Regions from separate parts of the Homo sapiens genome. Here region 2 is linked to region 1. The links are contacts of gene promoters, found by promoter capture Hi-C in human tissues and cell types (Jung and others, 2019). All regions are on one chromosome and are shown on one strand. Each heading gives the region's core, a stretch centred on a gene start or on the middle of the fragment in contact. The rest is flanking DNA. Distances are from core to core; before and after follow the strand shown.

What was found. The method cuts DNA at HindIII sites, captures the fragments that hold promoters and counts their contacts. A contact is called where the count stands out against the background at its distance.
Region 2: a contact is called between a fragment that was not itself captured here and the fragment with the promoter of ZNF169 in region 1, in 1 of the 25 tissues and cell types used here (dorsolateral prefrontal cortex).

Annotation. Positions count from the first base shown.
Region 1 is chr9:94,254,370-94,261,846 of GRCh38, forward strand. It overlaps ZNF169 (zinc finger protein 169), which reads left to right and starts at 4,929. Exons shown (of 5, transcript NM_194320.4): 1 at 4,929-4,976. It overlaps LINC02603 (long intergenic non-protein coding RNA 2603), which reads right to left and starts at 4,942. Exons shown (of 3, transcript NR_160773.1): 1 at 4,742-4,942. RefSeq lists enhancers at 4,448-5,093, 4,932-5,251, 5,094-5,740, 5,282-5,411, 5,741-6,386. The HindIII fragment of the contact is 11,443 bases long and covers 1,863-7,477 here.
Region 2 is chr9:95,450,154-95,453,425 of GRCh38, forward strand. The region is part of intron 20 of PTCH1 (patched 1); the gene reads right to left. Among named protein-coding and RNA genes, the nearest start is that of PTCH1, 57 kb to the right of the region's middle. The HindIII fragment of the contact is 5,168 bases long and covers 1-3,272 here.

The sequences.
Region 1 (7,477 bases), core at 3,679-6,178:
TGCAGTGGTGCTCACTGCAAACTCCGCCTCCTAGGTTCAAGTGATTCTCCTGCCTCAGCCTCCCAAGTAGCTGGGATTACAGGCGTGTGCCACCACGCCTGGCTAATTTTTGTATTTTTAGTAGAGACTGGGTTTCACCATGTTGGCCAGGCTGGTCTCGAACTCCTGATCTCAGGTGATTTCCCCACCTCAGCCTTCCAAAGTGCTGGGATTACAGGTGTGAGCCACCGCGCCCACCCATCATCTGCTCATTATTATTCTTTTCCCTGCCCTCTTTTGAATTGAGTATTTTTAATGATTTCATTTGTCCTTTGTTGGTTCATTGGGTATATGTTGGTTGTGTTATTTCAGTTATATCTTTGAGTTTATATTACACATCTTTAATTTACCACAATTTACCTTTGGTGGTATTATACTATTTACACAAAGTAGAACCTTACAACAATGTGCTTCCATTTCAGCCCTGGCCTTTCTGTTATCATAGTTACGCATTTCACTTCTATATATATCATAAACATCACAATACCTTCTTATTACTTTAAACAGTTTATTATGTATTAAAGCTATTTAAATAGAAACACAGCTTTTACATATTCTTTCTAGCATTTTTCATTTCTCTGTGTAGATCCTTATTTCCATCTAGTATCCTTTTCCTTTTGATTGAAGGACATCCTGTTTTTTCACTGGGTAAAAAATTCTAAGTTGATACATTGGCTTTTTTTTTCAGTGCTTTAAAGATGTTGCTCCTTTTACCTTGCTTTTTTTTTTTTTTTTTTTTTGAGATAGAGTCTCACTCTGTCACCCAGGCTGGAGTGCAATGGTGCGATCTTGGCTCACAGCAACCTCCGCCTCCTGGGTTCAAACGATTCTCCTGCCTCAGCCTCCTGAGTATCTGGGATTACAGGTGCGCACCACCACTCCCGGCTAATTTTTGTATTTTTGGTAGAGACAGTGTTTCACCATGTTGGTCAGGCTGGTCTTGTACTCCTGACCTTATGATCCACCTGCCTTGGCCTCCCAAAGTGCTGGGATTACAGGCGTGAGCCACCGTGCCCGGCCGCATTTTTTATTGAATGAAATCTGCTGTTATCTTTGTTCATTTGTACATAATATGTCTCCTCTTTCTGGCTTTTTAAAACAAGTTTCTTTATAGCTGCTTTTAAGCAGTTGTACCTTGGTGTTGTTATTTTCATGTTTCCTCTGCATAGGCTTCACTGAGATGCTTTAATCTGTTGGCTTATAATTTTCATCACATAATTTTCATTTGAGTATTTTTTATCCCTGTTTTACTTTGAATAGTTTCCCCTTCCATGTCTTCAGGCTAACTTCTTTTTCCCCTGAAATGTCCAGTCTGCTGCAATACCAACTGTGTCAGTCAAAGTCTTCCAGAGAAATAGAACTAATAGGATATATATATATAGAGAGAGAGAGAGAGAGAGAGTGAGTAGGATATATGTATATATAGGATATATAAAGAAAAAAGTAATAGGATAGGAAAAAACTAATAGGATATATGTATCTGTATATATATATATATATATGTGTGTATATATACATATATATATTCTATCTATTGATCTGTTTATCAAGTGTTTATCAAGTGGGAGAGAGTGACTGATTTATTTAAGGGATTGGCTCATGCAATTGCAGGGGCTGGCAAGTCTGAAATCTGTAGGGCAGGCAGGCTGAAAATTCAGGTAAGAGTTGATATTGCAATCTTGAGTCTAAAATTCACGGGGCAGGACAGCAGGCTAAAACATCAGGGAGGATTTCTGTTAGAGTCTTAAGGCAGAATTCCTTCTCTGGAAACCTCAGATTTTGCCGTTAAGGCCTTCAACTGATTAGATGAAACCCTCCCACATTATGGAGTGTAATCTCCCTTAAAGTCAACTGACTGAAAATGTTAATTACACATGTAAGATATCTACATGGTAGTATCTAGACTACTACCAAATAATTGGTCATTATAGTGTAGCCAAGTTGACATGTAAAATTAATCATCATACCATCCAGTATGGCATGATGTATAGAAAAACCCTTCTTGAAGTGTTTCCTGTAGCTTCTTGAAGTTGTAGTTATAATAAATGTTTTAGTGCTCTTATCTTGGTTTTTTTTTTTTAGACAGGGTCTCGAAGTGTTTCCTGTAGCTTCTTGAAGTTGTAGTTACAATAAATGTTTTAGTGCTCTTATCTTGGTTTTTTTTTTTTAGACAGGGTCTTGCTAGGGTCTTGCCCAGGATGGTCTGGAACCCCTAGGTTTAAGCAATTGTCCCAATCGTTTTAAGCAGCCTCCTAAGTAGCTGCAACTACAGACGCATGCCACTGTGCCCAGCTTGTGTCCTTACCTTTTAATTATATCTTCTGTGTAATTTCTATTGGTTGACTTTTCTCTTCATTTTGGGGAATATATTCTTTGCATGCTAGCATTTTTTTAATTGGAATTCTAAAATCCAGGGTCTTAGGATGGAAGCAGGTGTAAGAATAGAAAAAAAAAAAAAAAGTCCCCAATTTTGCCTTATTGGATGCTGGATAGTTTTGTATTCTTTTAAATATTCTTGAGCTTTTTATCTGGGATGCAGTTAAGTTACTTGGGAACAATTCAGTCCTTTCTAGGCTTGGATTTAAGCTCTGTTAGGTGAGACCAGAGAAGCATTTAGGTTAATTTTTGCCCCACTATTGAGGCAAAACCCTTCCGAGTACATGACTTGATGCCATGTGAATTAGCATTTCCACTCTGTCTCGTGGGAACAGACATTATTCCTGTTCTTTTTGAGCTCACAGTATTGCCCTCTAACCCTTTCTAGTGTTTTTTACCCCTAATTTTGAGGAGTTTCCTCACATGTACATGCTGGTCAGCACTTAACTAATACCTGAGGAAGAGGACTCTCTGCACATCTCTGGCGCTCTCTCTCCCTTTCTGTACTCTGCCCTGTGAACTCTAGATGCATATGCCTCCTCAGATTCCCAGTTCCATCTCCTCAAGTTGAACTCCATGCTTCACTTGAGTTTCCCTTCTCTGTGCTATGACTTGGAAATTCTCTCCATCTGCGGGAAGTTCAAAGGCTCACCTCCATGATTTCCACTGCTCTTCATTGTCTGATGTCAAATGTCTTCAAATGTTTCATATATTTTGTCCTTTTAAATGTTGATTAAGGTGAAGGGCTAAATCTGGTTCCTGTTACTTCATTTTGAGAAGAAGCAAATAGGAAGTAACTTAAAAATACCACTTTTTATCAAATTCTTAGAAAAAGAGTATAACTCATTTTGCAAAGACTTTGGTATGTTTTTGAGCGTATTATTCTGTTACATCTAATAAACAATCTTTGCATTAGTAAGATAACTTTAATTGCTATAGTGTTAAATGTCCTCAAGTTTAGTTTTTCCTTATCTTCTTGTAATCAATTGGAATTAAAAAAAAAACTTCAGAATCTTCTTCTTTATAACAGGAAAAAAAACCCCAGTATTTTTGGCATTTTTAGAAGTACATTCATACACACTGTCATTTAAAACATGGGGGTGGGAGGTGGAGCAAGATGGTGGAATGGAAGGCTCCACTGATCATTCCCCCTTGTAAGAAAAACAAGTTAACAACTATTTACACACAAAAGCACCTTCACAAGAACCAAAAATCAGGTAAGCACTCGCAGTACCTGGTTTTTACTTCATATGACTGAAAGAGGCACTGAAAAGGTAGGAAAGACAGTCTTGAATCACCAATGCCCCTGACCCATCCCCCAGCAGTGGCTCTGTGGTGCGGAGAGAGAATCTATGTTCTTGGGAGACGGCAAGCACAGCAATGATGAGACATTGCATTGAACTCAGTGCTGCCCTGTTATACCAGAAAGCAAAACTGGATCAAACACAGCTGATTCTCACGCATGGAGGGAGTATTTACACCAGCCTTAGCCCGAGGAGAATCACCTATCCCAGCAGTTGGAATTTGAGTTACTGCCAATCTCACCACCTCTGGCTAGAGGGCCCTAAATAAACTCGAAAGGCAGCCTGGGCCACAAGGACGGCTCACGCCTGTAATCCCAGCACTTTGGGAGCCTGAAGTGGGAAAATTGCTTGAGGCCAGGAGTTCCAGACCAGCCTGGTCAACATAGCGAGACCCAGATTCTTTTTTTTTTTTTTCCCCCTTGAGAAGGAATCTCACTCTGTTGTCCAGGCTGGAGTACAGTGGTGCGATCTTGGCTCACTGCAACCTCCACCTCCCGAGTTCAAAGTGATTCTCCTGCCTCACCCTCCTGAGTAGCCGGGACTACAGGCGCCCATCACGACGCCCAGGTAATTTTTGTATTTTTAGTAGAGACGGGATTTTACCACATTGGCCAGGCTGCTCTCGAACTCCTGACCTCTGATCCGCCCGCCTCAGCCTCCCAAAGTGCTGGGATTACAGGCGTGAGCCACCGCGCCCGGCCGCGAGACCCAGATTCTAAAAAACAAAACAAAAAATTAGCCCGGTGTGGTGCTATGCACCTGTATTCCCAGCTACTCAGAAAGTTGAGGTGAGAGGATTGCTTGGCCAGGGGTTTGAGGCTGCAGTGAGCTATGATCACACCATTGTACTGCAGCCTGGCCGACAGAGCAAGACCCCTTCTCAAAAAATAAGTAAGTAGATAAAGTTCAGGGGTGTACAATCACAGGTGTGAATTTGCAGGATGGAGGACATGTAACATCTTTTTAAAAAAAAAAAAAATTAGAAGGACCGTATAAAAAGTTAAAGAAGACTTACTGCTCACCTGACCACCCTTCTCATAGACCCGAAAGTTAGATTTTACTTTCTGATTTTTCACAATTTCTCCTGGATGCTGCGGTCCCGCCCCTCGCAGCATTCTGGATGTTGTAGTCCCTCGCTCCAGGGCATCCACGGTAGGGTAGTTGCGCGCCCCGTGGCAGTCTGGGTAGTGTAGTTCCGTGCCCAGGGGCAGTCCGGCTCGCGTACTTCCGCGTTCCGGCATCGTCGCCTGGTGCGTGGTGAGTGTCCTTTCACAGTTCTGGTGAGCTAGCCCGGAGGTGGTCCCCGCTTTCGCGGGCCTTCCACTGGAAGGAAGGTCGGGAAAGCTGGCATGGGCAGTCCATGTCGTGGCCACATGTTCCTTGGTGTTTTGAGTTTCGGCTGTGGGGTCTGGGCGTGCGTGGTCCACCCCGGAGAGAGGTCTTGGCGGAGGTCCTCTGGTGGGGAGGGGGCGTTGGCGTTGTCGCGTGCTTCTGGCGGGACTTTGGGCCCAGTATGTTGACCTGGAGGGGCCAGTGCAGGCCTGGGACCGACTTCCCGAGCTACTTCGCAGGTGCGTCCCCGGTACTTCGGGGGCCGCTGAGTGGGCTCTGCCTGGGGTACCCAGACAGCATCCTGCCACTAGTATCCCGCCATCCCCTCCCCACCATCGCGCCTCGGAGGTCTCTGGGCCAGCAAATGTGCCTTTGGAGGACATGATATCCTCGGTTGGAGCAAACTTCCCCATTAGTGGGAGGCACGCGGCTTGGGCATCAGTCGGGTTGTTTATTTGTTTATTTATTAAATTTTATTTATTTATTTATTTATTTTTGAAACAGAGTCTCTCTCTGTCGCCCAGGCTGGAGTGCAGTGGCGCAATCTCGGTTCACTGCAATCTCCGCGCCCCACCCCAGCCGCCGGGTTCAAGCCATGCTCCCGCGTCAGCCTCCCGAGCAGCTGGGATTACAGGCACCCGCCACCACGCCCGGCTAATTTTTTGGTTTTTGTTTTGTTTTGTTTTTTTGAGACAGAGTTTCGCTCTTGTCGCCCAGGCTGGAGTGCAGTGGCGTGATTCCCCTGCCTCAGGCTCCCGAGTAGCTGGGACTACAGGCGCACGCCACCACGCCCGGCTAATATTTTGTGTTTTAGTAGAGACGGGGTTTCACCATGTTGGCAAGGCTGGTCTCGAACTCCTGACCTCAAGTAATCCCCCCGCCTCGGCCTCCCAAAGTACTGGGATTACAGGCGTGAGCCACCGTGCCCAACCTCAGTCCAGTTATTAGGGCTCTTGTGGATGGCTGGTGCACTGTGGTGGTGATGGTGCAGCTTGGCCACTAGGACCCGGGTTTGTGGGGGAGGATTGTTTGTGGGTAGACATCCAGACTTGGTCTTGATAGTGGGGGGGGGGACGGCTAGGGCCGTGCGACTCGGGTCAGTAGCCTTGGGGCCTGGGGACCCAAGTTGGTGAGTTGAGAAGGGCTTGCCTGGAGTTAGACATCCCTGGGTTGTGGGTTGCATGGGGGCGTGCTTGTATCCAGATTGTCGGCTTCTGCAGCTGTGTGGCTCCCTCGGACTTGGGGACCCTTCCGGGAGCATGGGTTGCAACAAGCAGAATGGTGCCCATAGGGCCAAGGAACATTTTTCTCAAGCCTCAGGGGGCTGTTGAGTGACTCCTTGAATTCCTGGAGGTGGGGGAAGAAGTTGGGTGGAAGGCATCCAAACCTACATTTTTTTTTTTTTTTTTTTTTTTTTTGAGATGAAGTCTCACTCTGTCGCCCAGGCTGGAGTGCAGTGGAGTGATCTCAGCTCACTGCAACCACGGCCTCCCGGGTTCAAGCAATTCTCTGCCTCAGGCTCCTGAGTAGCTGGTACCACAGGCGCCCGCCACCACGCCCGGCTAATTTTTTTTGTATTTTTAGTAGAGACGGGGTTTGTTTTTTGTTTGTTTGTTTGTTTGTTTGTTTTGAGAGGGAGTCTTGCTCTGTCGCCAGGCTGGAGTGCAGTGGGGTGGCGCGGCGCGATCTCGGCTCACTGCAAACTCCGCCTCCCGGGTTCAAGGTATTCTCCTGCCTCAGCCTCCCGAGTAGCTGGGACTACAGGCACGCGCTACCACACCTGGCTAATTTTTGTGTTTTTACCATGTTGGCTAGGATGGTCTCGATCTCCCGACCTCGTGATCCGCCCGCCTCGGCCTCCCAAAGTGCTGGGATTTCAGGCGTGAGCCACCGCACCCCGCTCGAGACGGGGTTTCACCATGTTGGTCAGGCTGGTCTTGAACTCCTGACCTCCTGATCCACCGGCCTCGGCCTCCCAAAGTGCTGGGATTACAAGCGTGAGCCACTGCGCCCGGCCAAGACCTACTCTTATTTCTAACTTCTCAGTATGAAAACATTGCAAAGATATCCAGAAGTAGTTTTGAAGTTCCATGGATTCATCACTCAGATTCACCACTTACAAATGACTCACCTGTCTTCTTTCCCCCAAATCTGCAACCCCAAGTGTGGATCTCTTTGGAAATTGTCTCTTTCACTAGGGGTCTATACCAGGATTTGGTGTCTTGAGTGACCCTTCATAGAGTGAGTTCAAATCCAGGTCTCTCCCTTTGTCACTGTCACTTTGAGCAAGGTACTTAACCTCGTGGAGCTGCTGTGAATGTAGAACGAAGTAAAACTTGTGTATGACACTTCTCTGATGTAGTTCTTTAAAACAAAATTCAAATGTCATATCATTTCATCTGTAAATGGCAAAAACCACAATTACT
Region 2 (3,272 bases), core at 633-3,132, 1.2 Mb after region 1:
CCAAAGTGTTAGTTCATGAAGGGAAGAAAAAAAAAATTAGTTTGTTAATTTGCTGAACTCTGATGGCATGTAATGTTATTTATGAATGTGTTACACAAACACAAAAATATGGAATGCGACCTGAATGGCTGGGCAGACTGAAAGCACAAACACAATGCCGAGGGGCCCCGCTCGTGAAAACCCAGCAGAAGCAAACAAATGAAGTGAAGGGTGTAGAATTTAAACAATTTAGCCCAGGAGGAAAAGCAGCCCACTTCTGCAGGCTGCTAATCCACTGTGAAATGCTTCTGCATCTTACGGCAGAATCTCTAATTAAGTCTCTAGCATATCAGGTAAGGCTTTCCCTGGCCTTTCATTAATCACAACTTTCTGCCTAGAATTCTGTGAGTTCCAGTTTTACCAAATAGCTCCAATTGCAACCTTTTTAGAACACAGGAACCAGCTTTCTGCAAAGAAAATGCTGCCCATTCTGTGGGAGCTGGGGCATTGTGCTGGGTGAGGGCACTCCACAATGGCGGGGCTGCTCTGCGGGCCAATCTTTTGTTGAACAATTTAGCATCTCTGAATACTCTTGTTTTGCGTCAGCCAATTCAAACATAAAGGCCGCAGCACCATGGCAGAGGAGGAGAGTGCAGAAGTAGTTCTGCTTTCCCACCATTGAGGGCTAAGGTCTGGAATCCTTCATGAATACCAAGGTAAACCTGTCAGCCAGGGACAGCCTCTGGCAGACACTCTGCATGGCTGGAGGGCACAGACTCCACGCAGGGATGCGTTTCTGGAACTAATGATTTCTAGGGCAACTCTGATGGAAGTGGGCTGGGGTAGGGGAGAGGCTCAGGATGTTCTGGGAAGGGGGGGGCAAGATATCTATCTGTTAATGGTCCTCTGGTTCATAAAATGGAACAGGCAACCAGTGCTGCCATGTCTATATATGTTTTGACATCAGATGAAAGGAGAGAGAATCCCCATAAAAATACAAATACCTCACAGCTATTGTAAACACTAGAAACTTCTGAACTACATTAGTAAAAACCAAGCAGCCAATGTCTTGGTCTAATGTAAACTGCTGGAACTTTCGGCTGGGGCATGTATCAGCAGCCACATTAAGACATTTGCATCCCATCCATCTAGCTGAAGCATAAACAGGCCAATTAGATTTCTGACGGCTTAGCATATACAGTGTCTGCTCATTTATTTGACCTTGGTGAGGCCTTTATCAGGTTAATCCATCCCATCCTAGAAAATGGGAAGCCCTTTTAAGTGCTTGAAAGAGGAACCCTGATATTTCTGGGCGGGAACAACCCCGGCTGAGAGGAGAGCGCTGGGATTCCAGCTGCCAGGTTTCCAGCTGGGGGCTCTAATTCAGGCTAAGTTTCCTCATTCAGCATCCCCCACAAGGCTGAGCGAGACCCTCCTGTAACTCATGAGACCCCAGCACACCTTGCATTTCCCCTGGTTTTGCCTGTGAACTTGTCTCTCCCCTAAAAGACCTTAGGCTACACAGAGGGATATGGGGGTCCCCATTATTTGCTGTTGTGCAAATGGCACTTATGGGGTGCTTGTTATATTTGTGTTAAACGAGAAAGTAAATATGCAAAAGAAACTCTACTTGACATTGAGCTTTTATATCATAATGATAACGTTAGTGCCTGAAAAAGTGTATACTAAGAACAAAGGAAAAGCTAAAATCAAACTAAGAACTAAAATAAAACACAGACCAAAACATTTAACTCAGTTGGGCAACTCTCTACTTGGTATTGGCAAACAGGAATTTAGGAACTGGCTTGCTGGCTTAGCAGTAGTTTGTGCTGAGAAGTCTAGCTCCATGGACATTGCAGGGAGGTAGCTGGAGATGCAGACCCAGCCCTCATCCCACCTCCCGCCCCCCGAAATCGGCCCTGCACTTAGACCCTCAGATGATTCCTCAGCACATCGGTGTGAGAAGCGCTGGTCTACAGCGATTCCACTTCACCATTCACTCTATGCAAAAACTACAATAAGCAAGCTTGGCACTCATTCTAAGAAGGCGGCCTCCATGATGCCAAATTGCCCAGTGGGCTATGCCACAGGCCAACCAATGGACTCATCTCTTTCCCGTAATAAAACTTTGGCTAAAACTTCTAGTTGAAACCCTCTTCTTTTTACTTGAAGATAAGAAGCGTATCTCTCTCTCTGACACACACACACACACACACACACACACAACCTCTCAGTACTGAAGCGTGCCAAACAAACCAATCATTTCTCACATCTGGTTCTGCCCTGTCATGGTTCTAATCCTGGACTATCTTTTACTTATTGGTGATTCTGGCCTTAGAGCTCCATAAAGTAGCAGAGTTCTATCCAAGAGCAGGTCCCTCACAAAGCCATGGAGGCTGCTCAAAGAAGCAAGTGGTTTCCTCCTCTGCAGTTCTCAAATTCTTTTCAAAAGGAAAACTCACTGTTCTTTTATATTTCACAAAGTCATATTCTTAATTAAATCAACTGGAAACGACTTGCCTTGAGATCCAAACTAGGCTTAGATTCCCAAGAGTTGACACCAAAGTCCAATGCTAAATGCTTCCTAATTGTGGGGACTCGAATATGAAATCTGAGCACGTCATTTTCACTTCTTAAAAGAATAAAGTCAGGTGACAATTTTAGGTATTTTTAAGTTTTCCTTTCTACAGTTTGAAGGAGAGGGAGCGTAGGTCAAATGTGGCATTTCTTTCTGCAGTGTTTCTAACCCGAGACAATAATGGGCCACCTATTGGGTGATCCTTTGGCTTCAAGCTGCAGAGTTGTCTTTGCTGCCAGCCCCAAATCCTTTACCTTCTGTTTTCAAGATACTCCCCAAGACAGCTCTAGAAGAGAGCTTGTCTTTATACCTCCGAATATCTCTACGTTAACAAGTTCAAAAGAAAGCAGAGTCACGATGACGAGGTGCTGCAATCTACCAGATACAGAAGGAAATAAGCAACGAAGATCACCTGAGCTAATAACAATATTTTTTTTTTTGAGACAGAATCTCGCTCTGTCACCCAGGCTGGAGTGTAGTGGCGCAATCTCAGCTCACTGCAACCTCCGCCTCCCGGGTTCGAGCAATTCTCTGCCTCAGCCTCCCAAGTAGCTGGGATTACAGGCACCCACCACCACGCCCGGCTAATTTTTGTATTTTGAGTGGAGATGAGTTTCACCATCTTGGCCAGGCTGGTCTTGAACTCCTTGACCTTCTGATCCACCCGCCTCGGCCTCCTAAAGTGCTGGGATTACAGGCGTGAGCCACTGCACCC